2 separate regions of the Homo sapiens genome follow, and region 1 is linked to region 2. Evidence: promoter capture Hi-C in 16 types of primary human blood cells and fetal thymus (Javierre and others, 2016). All regions are on one chromosome and are shown on one strand. Each heading gives the region's core, a stretch centred on a gene start or on the middle of the fragment in contact. The rest is flanking DNA. Distances are from core to core; before and after follow the strand shown. Region 1 overlaps PDCD11 (programmed cell death 11). Region 2 holds the start of NEURL1-AS1 (NEURL1 antisense RNA 1).

Region 1 (3,837 bases), core at 1,209-3,708, 100 kb before region 2:
GAGTTGAGACATTTTACATCTTTTAATGTTATGATGAGATCAGGCTTTTTCTGTTAGTTTCAGAGGAGCCTTGGATGCAGTGACACCAGTACATGGTTTCTGTTGTATTACAGATACATCAGCTCCTTGGTGTTGAGGGGACACCTAGTATATAGTTTTCTGGCCTTGAGTAAACTTTCTGGCTAATTTTTATTTATTTATTTTATTATTATTTTTTGAGACAGGGTCTCACTCTGTCACCCAGGCTGGAGTGCAGTGGCACGATCATCACTCACTGCAGCCTTGACCTCCTGGGCTCACTCAGGTGATTCTCCTGCCTCAGCCTCCCAAAGTGGTGCATGCCACCATGCTTGGCTAACTTTTTTTTTTTTTCTTGAGACTGAGTCTTACTTTGTCACCCAGGCTGGAGTGCAGTGGCACAGTGTTGGCTCACTGCAACCTCTGCCTCCCCATTTTAAGTGATTCTTGTGCCTCAGCCTCCTGAGTAGCTGGAATTACAGGTACGTACCACCATGCCCGGCTAATTTTTTTTTTTGAGACGGAGTCTTGCTCTGTCGCCCAGGCTGGAGTGCAGTGGCGTGATCTTGGCTCACTGCAGTCTCCGCCTCTTGGGTTCAAGCGATTCTCCTGCTTGAGCCTCCTGAGTAGCTGGGATTACAGGTGTGTGCCACCACACCCAGCTAATTTTTTGTATTTTTAGTAGAGACGGGGTTTCACTGTGTTAGCCAGGATGGCCTTGATCTCCTGACCTCGTGATCTGCCTGCTGCCTGCTTCGGCCTCCCAAAGAGCTGGGATTATAGGCATCAGCCACTGCTTCCAGCCTAACTTTTTTTTATTAAAACTAGAGATGAGGTTTCGCCATGTTGGCTGGGCTGTCTCAGACTCCTGATCTCAAGTGATCTGCCCACCTCAGACTCCCAAAGTGCTGGGATTACAGGCGTGAGCCATGATCCCCAGCCTATTTTTGTATTTTTTGTTGAGACAGGGTTTCACTATGTGCGCAGGCTGGTCTCTAACTCCTGAGCTCAAGTGATCCACCTGCCTTGGTGTCCCAAAGTGCTGGGATTACCAGTGTGAGCCACCCATACCTGGCTTGAGTAAGCTTTGATTTAGTCATACATAGTCCCTATGGGACATTTTGATTTTTCTGCATTCTGCTTGAGTGTGGAAGCCAGTTTGAGTACTTACATACTAAGGATGTGAGTACTCACATACCTGGTTAGCATGTGGAAAGGCTTGATGCCTGGAAGGTCTGCTCTAGGGTGCTCCTGTGTGCCTCCTCCTGCTCACCCTGCCCTTCCTTTTGTCTAGGTGAGGGCCTGCATCCTTTGCGTCCATCCTCGAACCAGAGTTGTGCACCTGAGCCTGCGCCCCATCTTCCTACAGCCTGGACGCCCACTCACCCGACTCTCTTGCCAGAACCTTGGAGCAGTGCTGGATGATGTTCCTGTCCAGGGTTTTTTCAAAAAGGCTGGGGCCACCTTTAGGCTGAAGGATGGGGTTCTGGCCTATGCCCGGGTAAGGAGGCCTCTTTGTTTGGTCAGGGATCTTATCACTGGAAGGACTTCTGGAGCACAGGGGGCCATTTCTGCTTCTTTCATTCCTTGATGCTAGTTTAAAATTTTTGGATATTGTAGTTCTAATTCCTGTTCATAGTGATTAGAACAATGTCTATTGACTGTATTAGGATGCCTTAGAACCAGCTTGCCATATCTGATACTTGGTTAATAGTTAAGTATAAGGATGAGTTAGGATCCAGACCAGGGCCCAGCAGAGTTTTTCTTAAAGGGCTATGTCATAAATACTTTAGGCTGTGGGCCCTGTGGTCTCTGTCCTAATTGTTCAACGCTGCTGTTATGGCATGAAAGCAGCCATAGACAGTACGTAAATGAACAGATGGCTGTATTCCAATACAACTTCTATTTACAAAAACAGGCACTAGGCACAGTTGACTGACCTGTGTTCTGGACTTTCCCTGACCTTGCTGAAATTCTGTGATGATAAAGAGCAGTTTTTTAGTGTGAAGAATTACTTAACCAGGCAATCAAAGTACTGTTTTTATGGTACATGATAAGTGTTGAGTCCTCTCTATGGGCTGTAAGGTCTCATTGGCTCAGACCTGTTGTCCCTGGCTTATCCTCAATCACTTGGTACTTTGCAGCTCAGCCATCTCTCTGATTCTAAGAACGTCTTCAATCCTGAGGCCTTCAAGCCAGGGAACACTCACAAGTGTAGAATTATTGACTACAGCCAAATGGATGAACTGGCCTTGCTCTCTCTACGAACGTAAGTCTGTCATTAACAGGTAGGGGTGTAGAGATGTGCACCTGTACATGTTCATATTCCATTTCTCCTGGCTGTGCTTGGGAAGGGTTTTCTTTCTTGCCAGCATGCCTGTGGTAGCCCTGAATTTTAGGCAACCTCTGCCCTAGTTTATTTAATTCTGTGTTTTCTCCTTGTCCTAGGTCTATTATTGAAGCTCAGTACCTTAGATATCATGACATCGAACCTGGGGCAGTGGTAAAGGTAAGACCTCAAGCATATAATTAGGTACTGCCTCACCATCAGGCGTTCTTTAGTTCACGCACAGGTGACTGTCAGCCCGTTAGTCCTCATGTTAACACATTGAATGTCATGTTCCTTGCTTCTGCCTGCTGACTAGAATTTCTTTCTCTTTCTTTGGGTAACTCATAGTTAATTTCAAGGTAAGATCTTACTAGCACCACCCAGCTACACAAAGGCAGTAGATCATAAATCCTGAGATTTGGGATTTGATGGTGGTTAGTAGACCTGATCAAAAGTTAGTCCTGTGATTATTGATCTACCTGGGATATTAGTGAGAAGCCAGTTCCAGGTACCTGTCCTGTCCGACCATTTGGCTCTAATCGAGCAGCTCCCTTTATATGTAGAGTTTATTCCTTAGGAGACCTTGACATAGTCCCTTCCTTTGGGGAATGTATTTTAAGGCACACAGAAAGCACATGCTCACACAGAAAGATGTGAAGGCTCCCATAAATAAAGCTGACAGAATAATCCAGCTCAGTGTGGGGTGTGTGCTTCACCCATGTGCCATCTGGAATAACAGGCACAGTTAGCCCAGGAAGTTGGCTGTGAAGGGGAGGTATGACATGCCTTGTTGTAAGAGGTGGGGGAAAGGCCATTCTTGAGACATTGTGGCAGCTTATCTTTGGATTCTCTAGGGCACAGTGCTAACCATAAAGTCATATGGGATGCTGGTGAAGGTGGGCGAGCAGATGAGGGGCCTGGTACCTCCCATGCACCTGGCTGACATCCTGATGAAGAATCCGGAGAAGAAGTACCACATCGGGGATGAGGTCAAGTGCCGGGTGAGCCTCCTGAAGGGTCTCTTGGGGTTTTGGCTAGATGGGAAGAAAGCAGTTCTCAACTGAAGTTTCTGCCTTTTTCCACAAAGTGAGTGTGTAATGTCTGTAGTGTGTCTTGTGCTGTACCTGGCATTGGGAAGAGAAAAGTGAGTCCCCGTTTTGTGTAGTATAATTGGGAGTTAAAATATTCATACGTGATGAGAGAGCAAGCCAGCCTGTGATCTTTTGCCATGTGGCTTGGTGCAGGTTGTGTGCTGTGGTCACACCTGAGAAAGGGGAGGTGAGGGTGGGCTGGAGCAGCCAGAATTGTTGACGTTATCAGTAGCGACTGCCACGAACAGGACTGCCACGAACAGGTATTCCGTGCCAGTTTCTATGCTAGGCATGTGACAAGCATTATTTCATTTAATCCTTGAAACAACCCTAACAATTAAGCACTATTATCTTCATTTTGCGGGTGGGGAAATTAAAGCTTCGGAAAGCCAACCGTCT
Region 2 (4,034 bases), core at 1,256-3,755:
AGAAACATCAGGCTGGGCAGGTGGCTCATGGCTGTAATCCCAGTACTTTGGGAGGCCGAGGCAGGTGGATCACCTGAGGTCAGGAGTTTGAGACTGGCCTGGCCAACATGGTGAAACTCTGTCTGTACTAAAAATACAAAAATTAGCCAGGTGTGGTGATGGGCACCTGTAATCCCAGCTATTCGGGAGGCTGAGGCAGGAGAATCGCTTGAGCCTGGGAGGCGGAGGTTGCAGTGAGCTGAGATCACGCCGCCGTACTCCAGTCTGGGCGACAGAGCAAGACTCTGTCTCAAAAAAAAAAAAAAAAAAAAAAAAAAAAAGAAACATCAAGTGTGTGTTTAGATATTCTTTCCAGAGGAAGTTCCCCACTTCACATCCTTTAAAATAACTTCTCATTTACTCACTTATTCTTTTCACAGGAAACGCACAGCTGGGACGTAGGAGGCTGTAACTGACCAGTGTGGGACTGGAAAAGGAAAGAGAGATGTTAGAAAGTGTGGGCCTGGGGAATCCTAACTAGAAGGCCCCTGGTGCTGGGGAAATTAGGGTAGGAGATGCTGCATTGTTTACTATGAAAATTCCAGTCACTGCTCTTTTAGCAGTCATGCTAGTACATTAGCCAAGGCTGTTTATAAAGGTATAGTAAACTTTCACTTCTGCAAGGTCAGTGAGACTCTCATTTGCAAAAGATCATCTTGTTGCCAAGAACAAATCACCACCTAGTGAAACATTTAGCTCAGCCATGAAAGTGAAACCAGATGACGAATGAACTAGTGTCCACACAGACCCTAGGTGTCTCTGGGCAGTAGGAGCTATTGAAAGTTTTAGATTTGCTTTTTGGAAAGATCGTGCTGGCTACCCTGTGGAGGATGGAGTTAAGAGGGACAAGTTGGAAGACCACTTATGAAGGAAGTGAAGTTGTCTAGGGGAGGGATGCTGAAGCCTGAACTACAGATGTGGTCCAAGAGAGGAAGGAACACGTTTGAAACATATTTAAGAGGTGTGCTTTGGCCGAGTGCGGTGGCTCATGCCTGTAATCCCAGCACTTTGGGAGGCCAAGGCAGGTGGATCACTTGAGTCCAGGAGTTTGAGACCAGCCTGAGCAACATTGCAAAACACCATTTCTACAAAAATATAAAAAATTAGCCGAGTGTGGTGGTGTGCGCCTGTAGTCCCAGCTACTTGGGAGGCTGAGGTGGGAGGATCATTTGAGCCTGGGAGGTGAAGGTTGCAGTGAGCTGAGACTGCACGACTGCACTCCAGCCTGGGTGATAGAGTGAGACCCCATCTCAAAAAAAAAAAAAAAAAGAAAAGAAAAAAATAAAAGGTTGTGTTTGGCAGCACTGATAACTGAATGATGCAGGCGGTGAGAGTGAGGGAATAATCCAAGATTATTCCTGGTGCCAGGTTTTCAGGTGACTGGGAGAATGGTGATCCCATCAGGACCCCAAGCAGAAGGCGGGGGTTGGAGGGAAAGATGATAGGTTGAGTTTTGGCCAGGGTGTGTCAGAAGAGCCCTGAGATATCCTGGGGGAGACGCTGGGTTGGCAACTCCATGTGTGAGCTTGAATCTCAGAAGAGAGATCAGGGCCACAATGAGTTGTCAGCAGTGGGTGTCACTTAAACCATGAGAGTGGTTGAAATATCACAGGGTGGACAGAATGAAACCATGAAGAAGGTGTGGGAGAGGTACAAGGAGAATCAGGAAAGGTCAGAGGGCCAGAGAGGCCAAGGGAGCAGAGTTTAGAGGTATGATATGGCACAGTGCAGTGGTTCTCTAAGGGCCTACGAATTGCCTGGAGAGCTTGGAAAAATGTAGATTCCTCCTCAGGGGACCTGGAATAACCAGTACGATTCTGGAAGAAAGAAAAACCTGGAGGACTTACACTTCCTGATTTATTTACTTTCCTTTCTCCTTTCTCCTTTCTTCCTTCCTCCCTCCCTCCCTCCCTCTCTTCCTTCCTTCCTTCCTTCTTTGGAAGAAAAACCTGGAATACTTACACTTCCTGATTTATTTCCTTTCCTTTTCCTCCCTCCCTCCCTTCCTTTCTTCCTTCCTTCCCTCCATCCTTCCTCCCTCCCTCCCTCCCTTTTCTTTTTTCTTTTTTGAGACAGGGTCCTACTCTGTCACCCAGGCTGGAGTACAGTGGCGTGATCTCGTCTTACTGCAGCCTCCACCTCCTGGGCTCAAGGGATCCTCCCACCTCAGCCTCCTGAGTAGCTGGGACTACCAGCATGTGCTACCACGCTCAGTTGATTTTTAAACTTTTTGTAGAGATGAGGTCTCACTATATTGCTGAGGCTGGTCTTGAACTCCTAGGCTCAAGCGATCCTCCTGCCTTGGCCTCCCAAAGTGTTGGGATTACAGGTGTGAGTCACCATTGTGTGACCTGCCCTATACCATTACTCACCTTCTTCAAACTTCTAATAATAAACAAGAAATACCTACTGTTTAATGACCTCCTACTGTGTACCAGGCCCTGAGCCCCAAGACCCACAGCTCTGACCTCATTTACTCAACACAATGGCTTTGTGAGCTAGGAGCTAGGTGGGTCAGCCTGAGGGGCTGGTTTCCGTAGTGAGTCCTCTCCTGCCCACATCTGGCCTTTGCCTGAGCTGGCCCCAAATTTCATCTCCTCTGTGTCTCCTCTGAGTTGATAGGACTGGAAGCCCCTGGCTGTCTGTAATCAAGTCCACAAAGGTTCATGAGTCAAATCAGAAGTCAATGTACTGTTTCCCAAAGAGAAATTTTCTGTCAGATGGACTTCCTGGCACCTTCTCCCCTGCAGCAGCTCTTTGAGTGCTGGGTGAACTTGCTCTAGGCCTGGCAAGTTGAGAACACAGTCTGAGAGTTCAATGCCTATGGGCTCTGAGCCTTGCCCAGGCCACTTCACCAACAGGGAAATGCCTGCCAGGAGGACCCAACACTTGGGCCTGGCAGGCCACCATCTCCCTGGCTCTGCTCCCGTGGGCCTCACCGCAGTGTGCCTCAGTGACATCCCCTTTTCACCGATCTTTGGCATCCAATGAACACATCTTTTCTTCACCTCCAGCCAGGTATCCTTTATGTCTCTTGAGGGTAACTTTGCATGCCCTGATCCATGAACAGTCAATTTCCTAGACTGAAATTTGGGAAAGCTTATTGCCAAGAGCCATGGACTGGGAGTACCTTATTTTGCCCCTTTCTCCACTTACTGCCCACACAGTTTCAGGAAGGAAGCAGTGGGTTAAGTAAATGATGACGTCTATTCACAGGAATACCTTGCAGCTTTACACATTAATGAGGTACCATGATTTAAAAAAAAAGTCTACTATATTATTAAAAGAGCAAATTGTGTAATATGTATAGTATGGGCCTGTTTGCATTTAGAGTGCTACATTTTTCCTTCCCCCTCTTCCTCTCCCTTCCCTTCCCTCCCTCTCTCTCCCTCTTTTCTTTCATTCCTTTCTTTCAACCAGTATTTAGTCAATGCCTACTGTGTGCCAGGCACTGTTCTAAGTACTAGGATACAGCAGGGAACAAGTCCTCTGTCTCATGGAATTATATTCTTATGAAGAGAGACAGATTTTTAAAACCCAAAAACATGACATATGGATGTCAGATGATGAAAAATGCCCTGGAGAGAAAGAAACCATGAGTGAGGCAGATACAGGGATTATGAGTTGGGGGGTCTGGGGAACAGCACTTTGAATAGGTTGGGCCAGAGAAGACCTGATGGCATTTGCAGGAGGTGAGGGAGTGAGCAGTGCAGGTATCTTGGGGAACAACTCTATTCTGTGGTTCCATACCTTGATATCTACCTGTGCATCTAGTTATCACTCAGACATATTTACTTTGTTTGTTTGTACACACACAGACCAAGGCTGAGTGGATACCCACCCAACTGTTACCAGGGGCTACCTCTGGAGAATTGGCTGGGGTTGAGTAGTGTTGGGGAACGGGATGCTTTTACTCCACACAAATCAGTACTGTTATATTTATTTATTTTTAACAATAAGCACATATTGCTTTTACAGTTTAAACTTTTATAGGC

What was found. The method cuts DNA at HindIII sites, captures the fragments that hold promoters and counts their contacts. A CHiCAGO score of 5 or more calls a contact.
Region 1: a contact is called between a fragment that was not itself captured here and the fragment with the promoter of NEURL1-AS1 in region 2, in 3 of 17 cell types (M1 macrophages, M0 macrophages and megakaryocytes). The highest score is 6.1, in M1 macrophages.

The regions. Positions count from the first base shown.
Region 1 is chr10:103,411,804-103,415,640 of GRCh38, forward strand. PDCD11 (programmed cell death 11) reads left to right here. Exons shown (of 36, transcript NM_014976.2): 9 at 1,313-1,519; 10 at 2,163-2,287; 11 at 2,467-2,527; 12 at 3,202-3,348. Among named protein-coding and RNA genes, the nearest start is that of PDCD11, 17 kb to the left of the region's middle. The HindIII fragment of the contact is 2,714 bases long and covers 1,102-3,815 here.
Region 2 is chr10:103,514,937-103,518,970 of GRCh38, forward strand. It overlaps NEURL1-AS1 (NEURL1 antisense RNA 1), which reads right to left and starts at 2,506. Exons shown (of 4, transcript NR_120675.1): 1 at 2,450-2,506; 2 at 405-466. All of the region lies in intron 1 of NEURL1 (neuralized E3 ubiquitin protein ligase 1), which reads left to right. RefSeq lists enhancers at 579-658, 679-838. The HindIII fragment of the contact is 6,397 bases long and covers 1-3,136 here.